3 separate regions of the Homo sapiens genome follow, and all the other regions are linked to region 1. The links are contacts of gene promoters, found by promoter capture Hi-C in blood cells and fetal thymus (Javierre and others, 2016). All regions are on one chromosome and are shown on one strand. The core of a region is centred on a gene start or on the middle of the fragment in contact, and the rest is flanking DNA. Distances in the headings are between cores, read along the strand shown. Region 1 holds the start of ANXA13 (annexin A13). Region 2 overlaps NTAQ1 (N-terminal glutamine amidase 1). Region 3 has its middle 50 kb from the start of NTAQ1.

The links. Contacts are between HindIII fragments. The CHiCAGO score rates a contact against its expected background, and 5 or more counts as called.
Region 2: a fragment that was not itself captured here is called in contact with the fragment with the promoter of ANXA13 in region 1 in 1 of 17 cell types (M1 macrophages); the score reaches 5.9 in M1 macrophages.
Region 3: a fragment that was not itself captured here is called in contact with the fragment with the promoter of ANXA13 in region 1 in 2 of 17 cell types (M2 macrophages and M0 macrophages); the score reaches 6.6 in M2 macrophages.

What each region holds. Positions count from the first base shown.
Region 1 is chr8:123,735,963-123,738,716 of GRCh38, forward strand. It overlaps ANXA13 (annexin A13), which reads right to left and starts at 1,431. Exons shown (of 11, transcript NM_004306.4): 1 at 1,358-1,431. The coding sequence starts at 1,372. All of the region lies in intron 1 of LOC105375739 (a long non-coding RNA gene), which reads left to right. The HindIII fragment of the contact is 24,256 bases long and covers 1-2,754 here.
Region 2 is chr8:123,434,619-123,437,372 of GRCh38, forward strand. NTAQ1 (N-terminal glutamine amidase 1) reads left to right here. Exons shown (of 6, transcript NM_018024.3): 4 at 1,835-1,983; 5 at 2,592-2,716. Among named protein-coding and RNA genes, the nearest start is that of NTAQ1, 19 kb to the left of the region's middle. The HindIII fragment of the contact is 1,430 bases long and covers 725-2,154 here.
Region 3 is chr8:123,465,112-123,467,865 of GRCh38, forward strand. It overlaps a transcript of NTAQ1 not described here. Among named protein-coding and RNA genes, the nearest start is that of NTAQ1, 50 kb to the left of the region's middle. The HindIII fragment of the contact is 2,119 bases long and covers 310-2,428 here.

The sequences.
Region 1 (2,754 bases), core at 181-2,680:
TATCCTCCTAAGCTGTGAATGCAGGGTCCATTGATTATTCCTGGGGTCCTCTGCATCTATCAGAAATATTTGAAAAATAGGCTTCAGTTTCTCTGAAAGATACACTGAACGGATGGCTCATAATCTCTGCTGGTATGAAAATGCTATTTGTAGATGATTTGAAAAACAATGCCTTTCCTAAGAATATATTTGTAAGTTTGTAAACATCTGAGTGCAGCTTGAATATATAGCGAAGGAAAAACCTTATAGACAAAGTAACAGTTTACAGAAAGTTTTGGAGTTTTATTCTCTGCTCATAGTGTGCATGAAATATATCATTCTTGCTGTGGAAATTTACAGCAGGTACACAAAACCTTATTAAGATTTGTATTGGAATAGCTTTAGATATACTTCAATGTAAAAAATATTCAAGATTCAACTCTGATCTGTCCTGTGTGTAGTTGGTTCCAAAAGGTAGTGTTTTAGTCAGTTTTTAGTCATTAACTATTTATAGACACACTATTCAGGAGCCTAAACATTTCAAAAGAAATGTAAATTATTAAGTCCATTCCATGGATATTTGCAAATATGTGGATGTTTAGAAATAATAATGGAATATTTTCACCTTGCAATCCAAGTTGTGTGGACTTACATGAGTATTTACCTTGGTCTATTAATATTTGCAACATGAACCTATCTTTCCCACATAACTCTGAATGGGCTTAGTTTATGAAGTTTTATACAAATTTGCTACAAACTAACAGCTTTAGTTATACATTCTACAGATACATATTAACCATTTGCTCTCTGCAAGGCACTATTTACTGCCTTATTTTACATACTTCTTTCTCTTTAGCCCCTCTTAAGAGATTTTTGGCCAATAAGGGAATAATATATCCCCAGTGCTTTTTTTTTTTTTTTTTTGGGACGGAGTTTCACTCTTGTAGTCCAGGCTGGAGTGCAGTGGTGCAATCTCGGCTTATTGCAACCTCCGCCTCCCAGGTTCAAATGATTCTCCTGCCTCAGCCTCCTGAGTAGCTGGGACTACAGGCATGTTCCACCACACCTAGCTAACTTTTTTTTTTTTTTTAATTTTTTTAGTAGAGACAGTGTTTCACCATGTTGGCCAGGCTGACCTCAAACTCCTGACCTCAAGTAATCCGCCCACTCTGGCCTTGCAAAGTGCTGGGAGTACAGGTGTGAGCCACCGCACCCGGCCTCAATGCATTTTAAAAGCATGGTATGCTGTTGCTAAAACCAATATTAAAGGGTAACCATAGTGATAAAGTATACAAGTATCAGTCATGATTTTATAGTTTAAATTCTTCCACATGCTAACCAAAATTAAAACCAATTCCCAAAGGCAATGAGTACTTACATGACGATTGCCCATTTTCCTTTTTCTGAGATGGTTTTTCTGTATTTCATCAAGAGATCAGTCCTCCTACAGGCAAAGTTTACAACAGTTTTCCCCCCGGACATAATATCTCTTGTGTTTAATAAGTAACTTTTGGCACTGAATTTGAATACATTGTTGGGGATGGGTAGGGAGTGGCTCTAGCTACAGATAAACTTAGACTGCCCAGGTTTCCTTGGTACCCATGTTTTTAAAATAATATACTTCTTAATAAATAAAGTTTAGGCTTTTAAAGTTGAATAGCTTCTTCCCACCTAAAAGACTAAACCTGCCTCACTTCTGAATTGTTGAGTTATTCTTTCATATTCTGGTGTTCATTTAAAATATTATGCCTTTTAGTAATGAAAGCATTAACCAAATAGAAAAATATTACTATTTTTTACTAACATTGTTATTATTATTACAGAGAATTTTTCGAAGGCTACATTGCATTACACTAGATCATTTAAAAAATTTTACTGAGTTTTGAATTTAAAAAGTAATATGTGCAGATGGTAAATTTGTTTCTAATAATACATAAAGGTCCTGTGAAAAGTCGGCCTACTGACTTCCTTTTTCCTTCCCCCAGAGGTTTTCCGTGAGTCCTTCCTGAAGTGGTCCATGCATATTCAGCTATGTCCGTCGGTCTGCCTGTCTAGTTACCTACCTCTCTGTTTATCTTGATCCAACTTGTCTTTTCTTCCTCACCAAATGGGTTTGTACAATGTATTCTGTTCCATGCCTTGCATATTTCTTGTCTTTCCTTTTTTTTTCTGAGATTATTACAACATGTTTCTTTTTTTATTTGTACAAACTTATGTGGTACATAAGACATTTTGTTACATGCATATAATGAGTAGTGATCAAGTCAGGGTATTGAGAGTGTTTGCCTGAGTACAATAGATTTCTGTTGAGTACAGCCACCGTACTCTACTATCCAACACTGAATTTATTCCTTCCATCTTAGTGTGTGTTTGTACCCTTTAACCCACTTCTCCTCTTCCCCCGCAACTCACCCTTTCCAGTCTCTTTTCTCCATCTATCCACTCTCTACCTTCATGTGATCAATTTTTTAGCTCCCACATTTAAGGGAGAACATGTGATATTTGTTATAAGGGAGAACATGTGATATTTGTCTTTTTGTGCCTTGCTTATTTCACTTAATATAGTGTATATTTCATATACTAAAGAGATATTTGACACTGGCACATTTCTTTTTCAGTGGCCATGTAGTCAACTGTTATGGATATGAACCAAACCTTATTTCATCAGTCTACCGTTGAAGGTCATTTAGATTGTTTTTGATCTTTTGCATGAATATCTCATACACATCTTTGTTGTGCTTTCTTATCTGTAGAATAAAATCTTAGAATAGAGTT
Region 2 (2,754 bases), core at 190-2,689, 300 kb before region 1:
TGTCTCAAAACAACAACAACAACAAACCTGTAATATGAATTAGAAGATGTTAAGAGAGAAACAGAATTTGGATAAGGCGGAGATTCTGGCAGGGGGTGGGAGAAGATAAAAAATTGATTCGTGGGAAGAAAGCCTTTAGCTGGAGCTTGTGTGGTAGAAAGAGGTAGAGAAGGTTGCTGCAGATGGAGGGGAATGACATGAGCAGACCCATTGGGAGGCAGTGGTGGACTGTTTGGGGGCGTGGAGGATAGGATGTATCTGGGGAAGTCCAGAGAATAGGCATTCATTTTTGAATCTTTCTGTTTTGCTAAGACAGACTTAGAGCCAAAGGCAGCACTCAGGCTTTTAAAGGCACAGCATCCCTAGTCTTAAGTATTGTTCTTACCTCAGGATTTATACAGGGCTCAAGTAGAATGATATTTGAGAAAGAAAGTGCCTTTTAAACTCTAAGATATTGTAGAAATATAAGTTGGTATTACTAATGTTGCTAGGTTGCTTTGATTTCACAGTGCTGTTCTCTATGAGAGCGTTTTTCTTTGGAAGAACTCAGAGCACCACATTGCTCATGTCCCTTGATCACCTCCCTGAAATCCCTTTCAGCTCATCGCTGGTGTTGGGCAGTACCTTGAGTCTGAGAGTGAGGGTGAGAATTAACATCCACACTGTGACAGAGCTGTGTGGGAAAAGCTGTCTTTTTCTTTCTCCCTTAGTGGCTACAGATGAAAGCTTGGCTAACTTCTTTTTTTAAAAAATAGTTTTTCCTTTCTTTTAATTGCAAAAGTGGTTCCAAACTAGAAATTAAAGTCCTCCTTCTCCTCTCCAGGCTGACCCCCAGAAGCCTCCTTTGTTACTAGTTTGGAGCAGATCCTTGCAGACGTTTTCCTCTGCATTCACATGCATGCAAATGTACTTCTGAATGCGCACGTATGTCTTTATATACAGATAGCTTTTAACAAATAGCAGGTGGGGCCGGCACTGTGGCTCACACCTGTAATTCCAGGACTTTGGGAGGCTGAGGCGGGGGGATCACTTGAGGCCAGAAGTTGGAGACCAGCCTGGCCAACATGGTGAAACACCATCTCTACTAAAAATACAAAAATTAGCTGGGCGTGGTGGCGGGTGTCTGTAGTCCCAGCTACTCAGGAGGCTGAGGCAGGAGAATCGCTTGAACCCAGGAGGCGGAGGTTGCAGTGAGCTGAGATTATGCCACTGCACGCCAGCCTGGGTGATAGAGCAAGACTCTGTCTCAATTAAAAAAAATATGTGGGGCCAGGCACCGTGGCTCACACCTGTAATCCTAGCACTTTTGGAGACTGAGGCGGGTGGATCGCCTGAGGTCAGGGGTTCAAGACCAGCCTTGCCAGCATGATGAAACCCTATCTCTACTAAAAATACAAAAAATTAGCTGGGCATCGTGGTGCGCGCTTGTAATCCCAGCTACTCGGGAGGCTGAGGCAAGAGAATTGCTTGAACCCGGCAGGTGGAGGTTGCAGTGAGCTGAGATCATGCCACTGCACTCCAACCTGGGTGACGAGAGTAAGACTCCATCTCAAAAAAAAAAAAAAAAAAAAAGTTTCCTAGAGGTAAAATTGCAGTTTCAGAGGATGTGCATTTAATGACTATGAACATTTCCATTATTTAACCATTTCCCTATCTGTGGACATTTAGTCTGTTTTCATGTTTTCAGGGTGTTGTGTTTGCTTTATTCTATTTTGCTATTATAAGGAGGGCTGTAGCAGTCCTATATCCTTTTTAGTGATAAGGTATGTGTCTGAATACTGGGATTTCATCATTATGAAGTAACTTGGTTAACTTCAGCAACTTTTACTTTTAGGATTACCATGTTGTTTTGCTTCATGTTTCAAGTGGAGGACAGAACTTCATTTATGATCTCGATACTGTCTTGCCATTTCCCTGCCTCTTTGACACTTATGTAGAAGATGCCTTTAAGTCTGATGATGACATTCACCCACAGTTTAGGAGGTGAGGACATTCAAGATGGATTTACTTATTTTCTGAAGTAAGAATTTGACGATTCCACAGAGGTTCTTTTTTTTTTTGACAATTGTTTTGTAAAGATCTCGTCTGACATCACCATTGAGTTGATGTTTAAGAATGATGTATTTGCAACACAGGAGATTCAAAATGTTTTAAAGCTTTAAAAGTTATCTATCATATGAAAGGTTGTCATTCTTTTAAAATTTTGTGTGATGAGATCTCAGACATTTAATTTCAAGCGGGTTGGGGATTTTTCTTATATTCTTTTTGTTTTTGTGGGGATACCTCGTGCTGTCACCATTGAGAGGGCTGTGAGGGCAGCATCAGAAAATCATGCCCATTGCCCTTGATACACAAATCGAGTAAATCGAGGCAACCAGATATATTTTTGTGCCTTTGCCTTTCTGTTTCGGGGTTTGGTTGATCATTTCCTATGCTTCTCTAATAGGTAGTAAAGTTGCCTGTATTACTAACCATACAGAAATGCATGAGTAGTTTTGTGCATGTCATAGGAAATGAGTCGATATAAAAATGGAGTTAGAATTTCAAACATGACATCTCCCTAATGTGAGTGTATATTGATTTTTCTGCAGGAAATTTAGAGTGATCCGTGCAGATTCATATTTGAAGAACTTTGCTTCTGACCGATCTCACATGAAAGACTCCAGTGGGAATTGGAGAGAGCCTCCGCCGCCATATCCCTGCATTGAGACTGGAGGTGAGCCAAGATGCCTTCTCAGATGGGGGTTCTGATTG
Region 3 (2,754 bases), core at 119-2,618, 270 kb before region 1:
ACGAATTTAAGACTCAGAAGAAATTGCAAAAATAAAAGGGAGTTCCATGTACCCTTCATCTGGCTTTCCCCATTGATAATGTAGAACCACCGTACATTTTCAAAACTAGGAAATTGACATTGACATTGACACAATACTGTGAACTAAACTATAGACCTTGATTTTCATGAATTTTGACATGCTCTTGTGTGTGCATGTGTATAAACAGTACTGTGAAATCTTGTCACACATATAGATATGTGTAATCACTACCAAAACAAGGACACCGTCACCAGCTTCCGTCACTGCAGAGAAACTCCCTCATACTAAAGCTTTGTAGTCAGGCCCTCCTGCCAACCCTAACCCCTGGCGACCACTCATCTGTTCTCTATCACCAGAATTTTGTCATTTTAAGAGTGTTCTGTAAATGGAATTGTATAGTACGTACCCTTTTGAGATTGCTTTTTTCACTCAGCATAACATCTTTTTTTTTTTTTTTTTTTTTTTTTGAGACAGAGTCTTGCTCTGTCACTCAGGCTGGAGTGCAGTGGCACGATCTTGGCTCACTGCAAACTTTGCCTCCTGGGTTCAAGCAATTCTTGTGCCTCAGCTTCCTGAGTAGCTGGGATTACAGGCGCCCGCCACCATGCCAGGCTAATTTTTGTGTTTTCAGTAGAGATGGGGTTTCACCATGTTGCCCAGGCTGGTCTCGGAACTCCAGGGCTCAAGCGATCCACCCACCTCGGCCTCCCAAAGTGTTGGGATTACAGGTGTGAGCCACTGCACCCAGCCAGCATGACATCTTTGAGTTCCATCCATATTGTTGCCTGTGTCAGTAGTTCATTCTTTCTCTATAACTTAGAGTTGTATTCTGTTGTATACCCATTCACAGTTTGTCATTCTGCATGAAAGTCATTTTAAATCCTGTCCAAGAGGACCCTCTGGGAGGGTGAGAGGAAGCCAAAGAGTGAAGTCTGAGTGGACGGGATTGCCAGAGAACCAGGGGCTGAGGGCAATAGCAGCTGGAATGGAATGCTTCTCCCTTGTTCTGAGAATTACAACTGGAGAGGTTCCCAGAGATGGGAATCACCAAAGATCCCAAGAAAAGTGCCCCAAGTGAGAGGCAGCTTTATATAGCTGCAAAGCCCAGTGAGCAGGAAGTCAGCTTACAACTGTGCCACTCAGAAGCCAATTAAAGTAGCTCCAGACATAACCACTTACCTCTTTGCCGTCTGTCCATTTGGGCATGGGATCCAAGCCAGTAGCTAGTGAGTGGAGGAGGATTATGGCGCATGGTGCAAGACAGAAGAAAATGACTACTTTCCCCTCACCTCCCTGGGAACTGCCAGCTCTCGCAAAGAAGGGGAAGAAATCTTTTGAGTGAAAATGGAATTGTTGATGAATAGAATGAACTGACTCACTGAATTACTCTAGTAAGACCATGTTTGTGACTTGATGTGACCATCAGACTGTCATTACTTGAAAGTGACACAGCAGGCAGGAGCCTGCAATTGTTTTCATCTGGAGTGAGGACAAGATTCTTTTCTCCTGCTGCCCCTCCTCCCTTTTCCCCCCTGGCAAACTGTATACATGGATGTGCAAATATCTCTTTGAGATCTTGTTTTCAGTTCTTTTGGATATATACCAAGGAATGGGATTGCTGGTCATATAATTGCTGGTAATTCTAGTTTTAATTTTTTGAGGAACCTCCATTCTGTTTTCCATGGGCGATACCATTTTACAGTAAAGGGATGATGGAAGAAAAACAATAAAGTGGCATTTTGATTATGTTACCCTATCAGTTACATAAATAACTTGGAAATAAACATCTTCTATATATAAGTTCTTTTTTTAATAGTATAATTTTCCTTAGAGCAAATTCCTGAGCATGGTATTAATAGGTCAAAGGACCAGGAAATGTTTGTGGTTCTTGAAACATATTCCAAATTGCTTTTCTTTCTTTCTTTTTCCTTTTTTTTTTTTCTCAGTCTGTTGTCCAGGCTGGAGTGCAGTTGCGTGATCCCGGCTCACTGCAAGCTCCGCCTCCTGGGTTCAAGTGATCCTCAGCCTCCCTCAGCTGGAACTACAGGCATGCACCACCATGCCCGGCTAATTTTTGTATTTTTAGTGAGATGGGGTTCCGCCATGTTGGTGAAGCTAGTGTTGAACTCCTGGCCTCAAGTGATCGACCTGCCTTGGCCTCCTAAACTGCTGGGATTACAGGAATGAGCCACTGCGCCCGGCCGCCAAATTGCTTTTCTAAATGTTTGTGCCAACTTACATTCCCACCAGATATTGTATGAAGGTTTTATCACATATTCAATGGCATGAGATAGTGTTATGAGATTGTTAATGTAATGGGATTTAAGTACCATTTTGATGTTTGAAATAATTTTTAAAGTGTTTTCATAAAATAATTCTTGCATTAAGTGTTTTATCAATGTCTTTAAGCTTGGCTTTAGTATCTTGAGTATAGAATGTAGCTGAGGGTCTGATTTCATAAATTAATTACTGGCCATTCATATCCAGGTTCCAGAGGGTTCCTTGGAGCAGTTAGAACCAGACCAAATCCTGTAGAATTGTGAGCAAGGAAGAAAGGGAGAGGCAAGGGCCAGAGGAGCAGTGAATATGAGAGACAGGTTCAAGGTATCTATTTTTATTTTATTTGTTTATTTAGAGATGGAGTTTTGCTCTTGTTGCCCAGGCTGAAGTGCAATGGCACGGTCTCGGCTCACTGCAACCTCTGCCTCCCGGGTTCAAGCGATTCTCCTGCCT